3 separate regions of the Homo sapiens genome follow, and regions 2 and 3 are each linked to region 1. The links are contacts of gene promoters, found by promoter capture Hi-C in blood cells and fetal thymus (Javierre and others, 2016). All regions are on one chromosome and are shown on one strand. The core of a region is centred on a gene start or on the middle of the fragment in contact, and the rest is flanking DNA. Distances in the headings are between cores, read along the strand shown. Region 1 holds the start of TM7SF3 (transmembrane 7 superfamily member 3). Region 2 holds the start of IRAG2 (inositol 1,4,5-triphosphate receptor associated 2). Region 3 overlaps DNAI7 (dynein axonemal intermediate chain 7).

Evidence for each region. Contacts are between HindIII fragments. The CHiCAGO score rates a contact against its expected background, and 5 or more counts as called.
Region 2: a fragment that was not itself captured here is called in contact with the fragment with the promoter of TM7SF3 in region 1 in 2 of 17 cell types (fetal thymus and non-activated CD4 T cells); the score reaches 9.5 in fetal thymus.
Region 3: a fragment that was not itself captured here is called in contact with the fragment with the promoter of TM7SF3 in region 1 in 3 of 17 cell types (naive CD8 T cells, total CD8 T cells and non-activated CD4 T cells); the score reaches 9.6 in naive CD8 T cells.

What each region holds. Positions count from the first base shown.
Region 1 is chr12:27,012,748-27,015,780 of GRCh38, reverse strand. TM7SF3 (transmembrane 7 superfamily member 3) reads left to right here and starts at 1,397. Exons shown (of 12, transcript NM_016551.3): 1 at 1,397-1,703. The coding sequence starts at 1,613. RefSeq lists a silencer at 1,205-1,704. The HindIII fragment of the contact is 5,016 bases long and covers 1-2,388 here.
Region 2 is chr12:25,050,366-25,053,398 of GRCh38, reverse strand. It overlaps IRAG2 (inositol 1,4,5-triphosphate receptor associated 2), which reads right to left and starts at 693. Exons shown (of 22, transcript NM_001366544.2): 1 at 443-693. RefSeq lists enhancers at 819-1,188, 1,229-1,338. The HindIII fragment of the contact is 399 bases long and covers 1,350-1,748 here.
Region 3 is chr12:25,185,482-25,188,514 of GRCh38, reverse strand. All of the region lies in intron 2 of DNAI7 (dynein axonemal intermediate chain 7), which reads left to right. Among named protein-coding and RNA genes, the nearest start is that of DNAI7, 8.2 kb to the left of the region's middle. The HindIII fragment of the contact is 772 bases long and covers 1,023-1,794 here.

The DNA of each region.
Region 1 (3,033 bases), core at 148-2,647:
TTAAGAACACAATTTATTGAATAATCCATCCACTGATTCAGATGCTACCCTTATCATAATTGTCCCTTTCATCTTCCTTGGATTTCATCTACTGAGGGTTATAGGAATAGGGGCATGTGGGAGAGTGAATAAGCACTACAGAAATAGATAGTGCTACCAAAGGTGTGAAAATTTGGACCAGGCAGTGGGAAAGCAGAGAAAGAATTGTGCCTATGACAAAGATTATTTGCTTGGCCAAACTCTAGTACGGCTTCTGAATCTTCTGCTAGGTCCATCTGTGCACTTCTTTGTAAAAATCCAGTTTTAGCAAAGAACCCCCTTTCCTCCATATCTAATCAGTTTTCTCACCCTGCACCATCCCCCAGGTGATGTTATGTCTTCAGAAGTCCTGTTAGGTCAGTTTCACCAAATGCCCCTTACCTCTGATGCTTCCTCTTAGTAATTTTCCATCCACTGAACTCCATACTGCTGGTTGGCTATAAATTCCCTCTTGCCCACGCTGTATTCGGAGTTGAGCCCAGTCCCTCTTCCCCACTGCAAGACCCAGTTGCAGTGGTCCCTATGCCAATTGAGACAGTCCTCAATAGTCTTCGTTCGGTGCTTTAACAAGTATCATTGAATAATTTTGTCTTTAACACTTCTTCACATTATGGTCACAGCTATATATTGTTAGCTTAGTAGTGGACTAACTGAACATGTAATTTCCAAGCTATAAGTTGCTCATCAAAATATATAAGTGAAAAAAATTAAAACCAGGGAAGGAAAGCAAGACAATCCTCCCCAAATAACGTTAAGTCTATGCGTCTAATTCCACATCATCGATGAGCCATCTGTCACATGGACTACTGTCCCTCAAACAGCACTCAGGTATGAGACTTGAGACGAAGTTCAGACCAAGGCCGTGTCTTCGAGGATATTTCGCTTAGAGAAAACGAAACTACTTTTAAATGTAGTGCTTATGACTAGTGCGGTAACCACTACACAAACAGCATTCTCCTGGCATTTTTATGCTAACATAAGCCTCAGCAGCGAAGACAATTGCTACCGGGGGAAATAACCTTCAATTGTGTTTTTAGCAACTGATTCCTCTTTTTTGCTGTTGTAAAGGGCCGTTAAACACGGAAACAGGAGCCTGGCGACGTTAGTCCGCAACAGAAAGTTATTTTGTACTTTCACAGTGGGTTTGCCTACTTGGTGAGATAAAAGTGGGGCAAGACCGGGCCTCAAGCCAGGACTTCCTGGGGGCTCCCGGGAGCACCGCAGGCTGCGCGTTCCCCGCGCGCCGGCAGGAGGCGCGCGCTGCCTGGAAACGCCCCAGCGCCGCCCGCGCCCAGAGACCCGCCGCTGTGACGCAGCGAGAGCCCGGGAGGAGGCGCGGGAACGCGCGTTGGGGGTCAGGTGCCGGAAGAGGAAACCTCTCGCTGGGGCTAGGAGTTCGGCGGGGCGCGCGCCGGCGGCTGCGGAGCTGGCAGGTGCGAAGCGTCTGCACCTGGCGGGCGATGGCGCCCGATGCGGGCGCCCCGGGATAGCGTGGGCGAGGCTGCGGGGCCCCGGCGCGCACGCCCGCACCTCTCCCCAGCCCTGGCGTGGGCCCAGCCCGGCCCAGGCAGCAATGGGGTTCCTGCAGCTGCTGGTCGTAGCGGTGCTGGCATCCGAACACCGGGTGGCTGGTGCAGCCGAGGTCTTCGGGAATTCCAGCGAGGGTAAGGTCGGGGCGCCTGGCTTCTGCAACCCAAAGTTGCTTTTGCATTTCTTGCGAGGTCAAAATCCGCCAGGGGTCTGTCAGCCTAGCAGGGAGATGGTGCTGGGGGCGTTGGTACACGCTGGGTGGTGAGTCCAGAACCGGCACGAATGGTGTTTCCTGCAGCGGAAACACTCATGGCTAAGGAGGTCTTACTATTAACCTCCTCATTTAGCGGAGGAAATGGGAAGAGATAAATAATTCTCTTTTTTTAACACAGTATTATCTCCCTTAGGGAGCAGCCATGTTTGTGGCTTTAATTCAACTTACTAAAGCGCCTCTTTGCTGCCCAGTGGACTGTCTGAGCTTCTGGACAGCAAGACTTGGGGTGGAACTAGCGGCTTAATGACTGATGGCTCTCAAGCTGCATGGAATTTTTACACCCCCAAATCTAGAGGCTTTTCAAACTGGTTATGTTCTACAGAGTTTGAGAGGGAAAATGAACCCATAATGAGGCTTTATTTTTAAAGAGCCTTTACCATCTAATTTATTAATACCATCTGGAGACAGGAAAACATTCCATACTCACAATGAGAAATAAAGGACTTTCTGAATTACAGATACATAGACATACAGATAGAATGTGTATACCCTCAATTCTACAAGTTCAGCCACAAATGAAAAATAAACACAGAAACACAAAAGCTTGCCAGTCCAGGTATCAGAGTTGTTCTCCTTACTTGAGGGCAAGAAATTTCTAATCGATTTGACCTTAAAAAAGACAAATGGACAAAAACTGTGTTCTCTGTTGTCTCATATCCAACAGGAAATAGATCTCTATGAGATATTAATTCGTTTACAGAGATCACAAAATTCCCAATCATTGCAGCTACCAACAGGAAATAACTTGTCATCCATAAATGAACTGTAAAAAATAACAATTTAATAGAGAGTAAAACTAAAATGAGAAAAACAAGAATCAACGAAGTTCTATTGCCACTTCAAATTCACCTGTGGGAGCCAAGAAGCAACATGCCCGGGCTTGGCTCCCTATGAGTACACCATTTTTGATGATTTCAGGTGACTTTTTTTTTTTTTTTTTTTGACGGAGTCTCGCTCTGTCGCCTAGGCTGGAGTGCAGTGGCATGATCTTGGCTGACTGCAACCTCCGACACCCGGGTTCAAGCAATTCTCCTGCCTCAGCCTCCAGAGTAGCTGGGATTACAGGCGCCCGCCACCACACCCAGCTAGTTTTTGTATTTTTAGTACAGGCGGGGTTTCACCATGTTGTTCAGGCTGGTCTCGAACTCCTGACCTCGTGATCTGCCCGCCTTGGCCTCCCAGAGTGCTGG
Region 2 (3,033 bases), core at 300-2,799, 2.0 Mb after region 1:
GCCCAACCCCCTAAAATTTCCAAAGAAAATAGACGAGCAAGGCCTTTTCTACCATATGAGAGGAAAAAAACTAGCTAATAAAATCAGAGTATAATATATAACAACTTGCAAGTTCAAATATACCATGCATACTAGATTTTTCTCCTTGTTTACTTTTAGAAATTTTGAGAAGTTTTAATTAATTTTAAAAGAAAAAAACAGCCACAGACAAAACCAGCTTATAATAAAAAGGCAAAAAGGGAAGTTAATGGTTAAACCCATGCATGCACCTAGCCACTCAGCAAACCTCTCTGAAAGCCCCACAATATTGCCTTCTCAAACCATTTCATTGTCATAAACTCAGGAATAATATCCTAGCTGTAATCTAGAAAAATGTCTGTAGTCCTATGCCCCGCCTGAGGGTGGACAAAAACTGGGTCATAAATGAATATTTGCTACTCACTCTTCAGTTTCCTTGTCTTCTGCTGAAGTGCCTGGCAAGTGTTCGATAATTCAGTATTTATAGTTTGAAGGTTCCGTTGTTCCGAAATTGCTTCCTCTAATTTATGCAGTAAAGACGTAGCTTTTTCACTGGCAGTGTGGGCTTCTCGATCTCGATCCTTACCCTGGACATGGATAGTTAGTGCTGGATTGTAGCAGTGTGGCCAGGAAAGAAAGCAATGGAGTGCTCACTCTTATGATGCAGGCAAAACTGAAAATGTGTTTTTCTTCTCAGGGAAGTGATAAGCCTCTCCTGAACTTCTGCAATTCTGTGTTTGCATGGGCTTGGTATGCCTGAGCTATTTCTACAGCGGTTAAAGTCCTGATATGTCAAGTTGCCTCTTTCTGCAGAGTCGCCTCTTTCATCAGCAGGCTGTTGATACCGCCTCTCTTACAACTCCCCCTTTACTTCCTCTGCTCACTGTTAGTCGCTAGGGACTGAACTTGCAGTTCCTCTTTGCTTTTTTTTTTTGTTTGTTGTTGTTGTTCCTCCTCCATTTTTATTTCATGGTTTGCAGGGCATCTGAGGAGATGTCCCCTGAATCTAATGTAGCCATGAGCCACCCTACCTGCTCCTCCACATCCTCCAGCCGTTGGCTGGTTTCTTGGAGCCTCTTCCTAAGGATGCCTTCCTGGTTGACAGCATCTTCCTGTAGTTGTTTAATGGCTTCTAGTTGTTTCTGACTGGAGTTAAAAAAAAAAAAAAAAAAAAAAGTCCAAACCGCAAGCTGTCAGTGACATTTCAACTAAGAGTCACCCTGTGAAATTATGACAAACTCAAACTTAACACCACTTCCTTAGAGATCAGAGGAAAAAGTGAAAGTATTTACATATAAATGCTTCACAAATATAAAATCTTAAGCAAAGCTTATTGGTCGCTTAGCCTGACACCCTCACTTTACAGATAAGGACTTCTAGTTTCATCTTTTACACTGGTGTGTTCAGTTCCCACCAGCTGCATTCATAGCACTTAGCATCAGTTGCCAGTTGCCAGTTACTCAGAAGATGGCTCTACAATGAGGTCAGGGTGACAGGTGCAACATTTACACATCACAGCTAGCTTTTACAGAAAAAGAAAGGAATGGGGTAAAGGTAGGGGGAGGGAAAAGAAAAGGAAAGAGAGCTTTGTTTCATGACCTTAGCCTTTCTCCTTAAGGGTTGTCAATCATAGTATAAACACGTGCCACGAGCACAGGAAGGACCGCCCCCAGGCACAGATGAAAGCTGGCGGTTGATATTTCTACTTTAGTCCTCTTTTTGCTGAAGCTTTTCTCCCCATCACCCTTCCCCACCACAGATCTCATGGTGCCATTACGTTACACCTCATTTGGATCCAATTCTAATCTCTAAAACATGTAAAAATGCACTTACTCTCTGTTAGCAGATGAGATTATTTAATGTGTGTTACATGCCAGTACCTCAATGATTATCTGGAAACAATCTGACTTGAATATGGACCTTAACTCAAAGTGGTGATAAATGTCGGGAGTTGCAAAACAGCAAGGAAGACATTGTCAGCCGTAGGCCTTGTGCATGCCTCTCAAACGTTAACATTTAGTCAGAATGCCACTGCACACTGGCACAAATCCAGCCCTGGTTACACGAAGGACCACATGAGAGGCAAGAATGGTCTCACAGAATGCTTACCATACTGGTAAACAAGCAAACAAAATCCTAAGCAAAAATAAAAACTGCCTACATCACCACACTTTCCACTGAGCGTCCTTCAATAGCTTATCGTTGTCTCTCTCACTCTCTTTTTCTCTCTTTTTCTTTAACTGTGGCAGGAACATTTAACAGGAGATTTACCCACTTAACAAATTTTTAAGTGTACAATACAGTATTATTAACTACAGGCATAATGTTGTACAGCAGATCTCTAGAACATCTTCATCTTGCATAACTGAAACTTTATACCTATTGAGTAGCAACTCCTCATTTCCCCTCCCCTAGCTCCTGGCAACCACTATTCTCTCTCTTTCTATTAGTTTAACTATTTTAGATACCTCAGAGAAGTGGGATCGTGCAGTATTTGTTGTTCTGTGACTCACTTATTTTACTTGGGATAGTGTCCTCCAGGTTTATCTATGTTGTCATATGTGGCAGAATTTCCTTCTTTTTAAAGGTTGGATAATATTCCCTTGTATTTATATACCAAATTTTCTTTATCCAATCATCCGTGGACATTCAGGTTGTTTCCAAATCTTGGCTATTGAGAATAATGCCGCAGTGAATATGGGAATGCAAATAGCTCTTCCAGGTGCTGATTTTAATTATTTTGGATAAATACCCAGAAGTGGGGTTCCTAGATCAGATGGTAGTTTAATTTTTAATATTTTGAGAAAACTCTGTAACTGTTTTTTTTTGTTTGTTTGTTTGTTTGTTTTTTTTGAGACGGAGTCTCGCTCTGTCTCCAGGCTGGAGTGCACTGGCGCGATCTCAGCTCACTGCAACCTTTGGCTCCCGGGTTGAAGCGATTCCCCTGCCTCAGCCTCCCGGGTAGCTGGGACTACAGGCACGCACCACCATGCCCGGCTAATTTTTTGTATTTTA
Region 3 (3,033 bases), core at 159-2,658, 1.8 Mb after region 1:
ATTTACAGTGTAGGTAGGAAAACATTGAAGGATATATTTTATACTTTCTGGTTTTTTAAAGTTTTCTTAAGGGAAAATTAATGAACACACATGGTACAAAATTAAAATAGCATTAAAAAATTGAAACTTTTCTTCAACCCAAGACATTTGATCTGCCTTCCTAGAACCACTGTACATCTTTTCATAAATTTTCTAAACATTAAAGGGCGCACATATGTACACACACAGAGACCCCTTTTCTCCCTGCCTATGGGAGCATTCTGCACCTTCTGTTTTTCACTTAACAATATTTTATTAATTATAGGATACTAATCTTTTTACATTTTAACATTACTGAAATTGAGATGTGTCTTATAATAGTATCTTACAATCATTGTAGTCCTGGATTGACATCCACTTCTTCAACAGAAGATGTTTGCTTCTATCTGTCAGTTGGGCTTATTACCAGTCTGGTACTACTTAAATTCTATGCTTGAGGGTTTTGGACCACACCAATGGTATGAGTCAGACTGCAAATCCACATGAACCGGCTTGTGGTTTAAATTCTCAGGAATTTTTTTTCTTCCTTCTACCAGTGTCAGAGTTGACATATGCAAGCCTTCTTTTTTTTTTGCTCTGCATTACTGTGTTGTGGGATTGTTTGTCTTTCCCTATATCCAGTTTTATACAGGTATCGCCTTTAACTGCCATCTTAGGCATTATTTCCTTTTTTGGGACATAATAAATACATCTTACATCTGATGACATCTTAGGTTCAATGGAGTAAGTATACCTTGGGGACCTTTTTGTTTTGGCGTATTGAAATTACCTCACTCTTTTTCATGGCTGCATCATATCTCATTGAAAGTATGCTACATGATTTTTATGTTGGCCCTATTTTTTGCTATCACAATCAAGGCAGGAATGAAGATCCTTATATATAAGTTCTTGCAAACATGGAAGAATATTTATTTCATTGATTTAGCAGTGTTCAAGGCATTAAGTGAACAGCAGCAAGACCAAGTTCCTGCCTTCATGAAGCTTACATTCAACTTGAGGGTGGGAAGTGAGACAGGAATATAAATAATATAATTTCAGGTAGCTTTTAATACATAGAAACTAAGAGGTCATGAAAAAATGTGGGGTAGGGCTGATGATGATGCTATTTCATATAATATGATTAAGGAAGTAAAATTTAAGAAGAGACCTGGATGAAGCAAGGGAGTAGGTTAGTAATTACCTGGGGGAATGAGTATATTAAGCAGGAGAAACAGACATAGTTTAGAATGACCTTGGTGAAATGCCAGTGTGGTTAGAACAGACAGTGAGGTAGAAAGTGAAAGATAAAAACACGGCATGGAGACCGTGGTTAATCAGGAGCCGGTTTGTAGTTCATGGCCAAGTAAGCCATGGTAAAGTATTTGGGTTTTATTGTGAGTGTGATGGGCAGCCTGGGAAAGTTGTAAACAGAAAAGTGGCATGATCTGATTTACATTTTTAAAAGATCACTTTGATTGCCATGTGGAAAATTCACTGTAGGGGGACACAAGGGTAAAAGTAGGGGTACCCTTTAGGAATCCATCACAGCAGTGTAGGTTAGAAGTCTTCAAACTGAGAAGTAAATCATACTCTGACAGGTGTACAAAGGTTTTCTAAGGATACAAGGACACAGTCTTATGGAAATCAATCTTCAGATGATTGACTTCCATATTTACCTTTTCCTGAGAAAATGTAGTCATACATTAAAAAAAAAACCCTGCCTTTTTACCATTGCATCCTCCTCTGTCACAATCACCCTTCTTACAAAGTAAAGCTTATCTGTTATCTACTCCCATTCTGTGATTCTTTGCCCTTGGGACTGGGATGTGAAACCTTTAGACAATTCGAAACATTGATGTTGGCAAAGCTAACATCAGACACTAAGGACTTCCTGTTTTTGTCTGCCTTACCTGTCTTTTTGGAAGTGGTGAAATGTGTCATTAGAAGTACTGAGATATTGTGAATTTATACACATGGTAGTGTGAAGTGGTGATCATTTTTGTTTAGTTACATTGCCCATGAGATTATTATCAAATTATGGTACCAAAGAGTGTATCAAGTTACATTGTGAGAGATTTTTTTGGTACTATCATTTGATAATAATGTTTTGGTACCAGACTACAAAGATAATGTAATTAATTTTTTAATGAAGAAAGATTAGTGTATTAGTAAAAATGTGAGTGTAATATTTTTACGCAGATTTCAAAGTTGCCTTTTGAAACTTCACGTAATTTAAATTAATATTGTTCATTGCAAAAGTTAGAAAATTGCGTAAGACTATAGAAAAGGTTATGATACCTGATGTACTGTTAAAAAACCCATCACTACATTTATATTAATATATTTTTATCAGAAACCACTGTACTTCACAGAATACATGAAATACAGAAAACAGTGATTAGACTATGAGAAGAATTGCCTTACAAATTGATGAATATATAGATGATTCCAGTTAGTCTCAGTTAATAATTTATGACTTTTCTTCCAATGAAGAAAATGGCATTATTAATACAAATTTGATGTTCAAATTACTGTTTAGGAATACAACTGTGAAGAGATTTTACAAAACTTTTAATACTTTATTTGAATTGATTGTATTTTATTTGATTGAAATCATGCTCAACTACCCCCAGGAATGGGACTGTAATGAATGGGCAAAAGGGGGGTGCTTATTGCTATAGTCTGTACTTTAAATTCTATTTTCATTTAGGAACACTGTCATCACAAACAGGCTTCAGTGGCCAAAGAGTGAGTCCTGGTTTTCATGGAACATTCAGTGCTGACACTAAAATATAAATGGTATTGAGTTCAGGACATTAAAATTGCATCTTTTAAAAACAATATATGAGGGAATTAAATCAATTTACATCTGGCTTATAATGAAAAATGAGATAGGTTGCCATGAACATGCATATCAACATATTTATTTGTACCAAAAAATGAAGTCAGACTGTCTGATAGAAAGTAAGTCTAATATGGCCATTTAGTTTAAGTTCGAAAACAGTTTTGCCAATT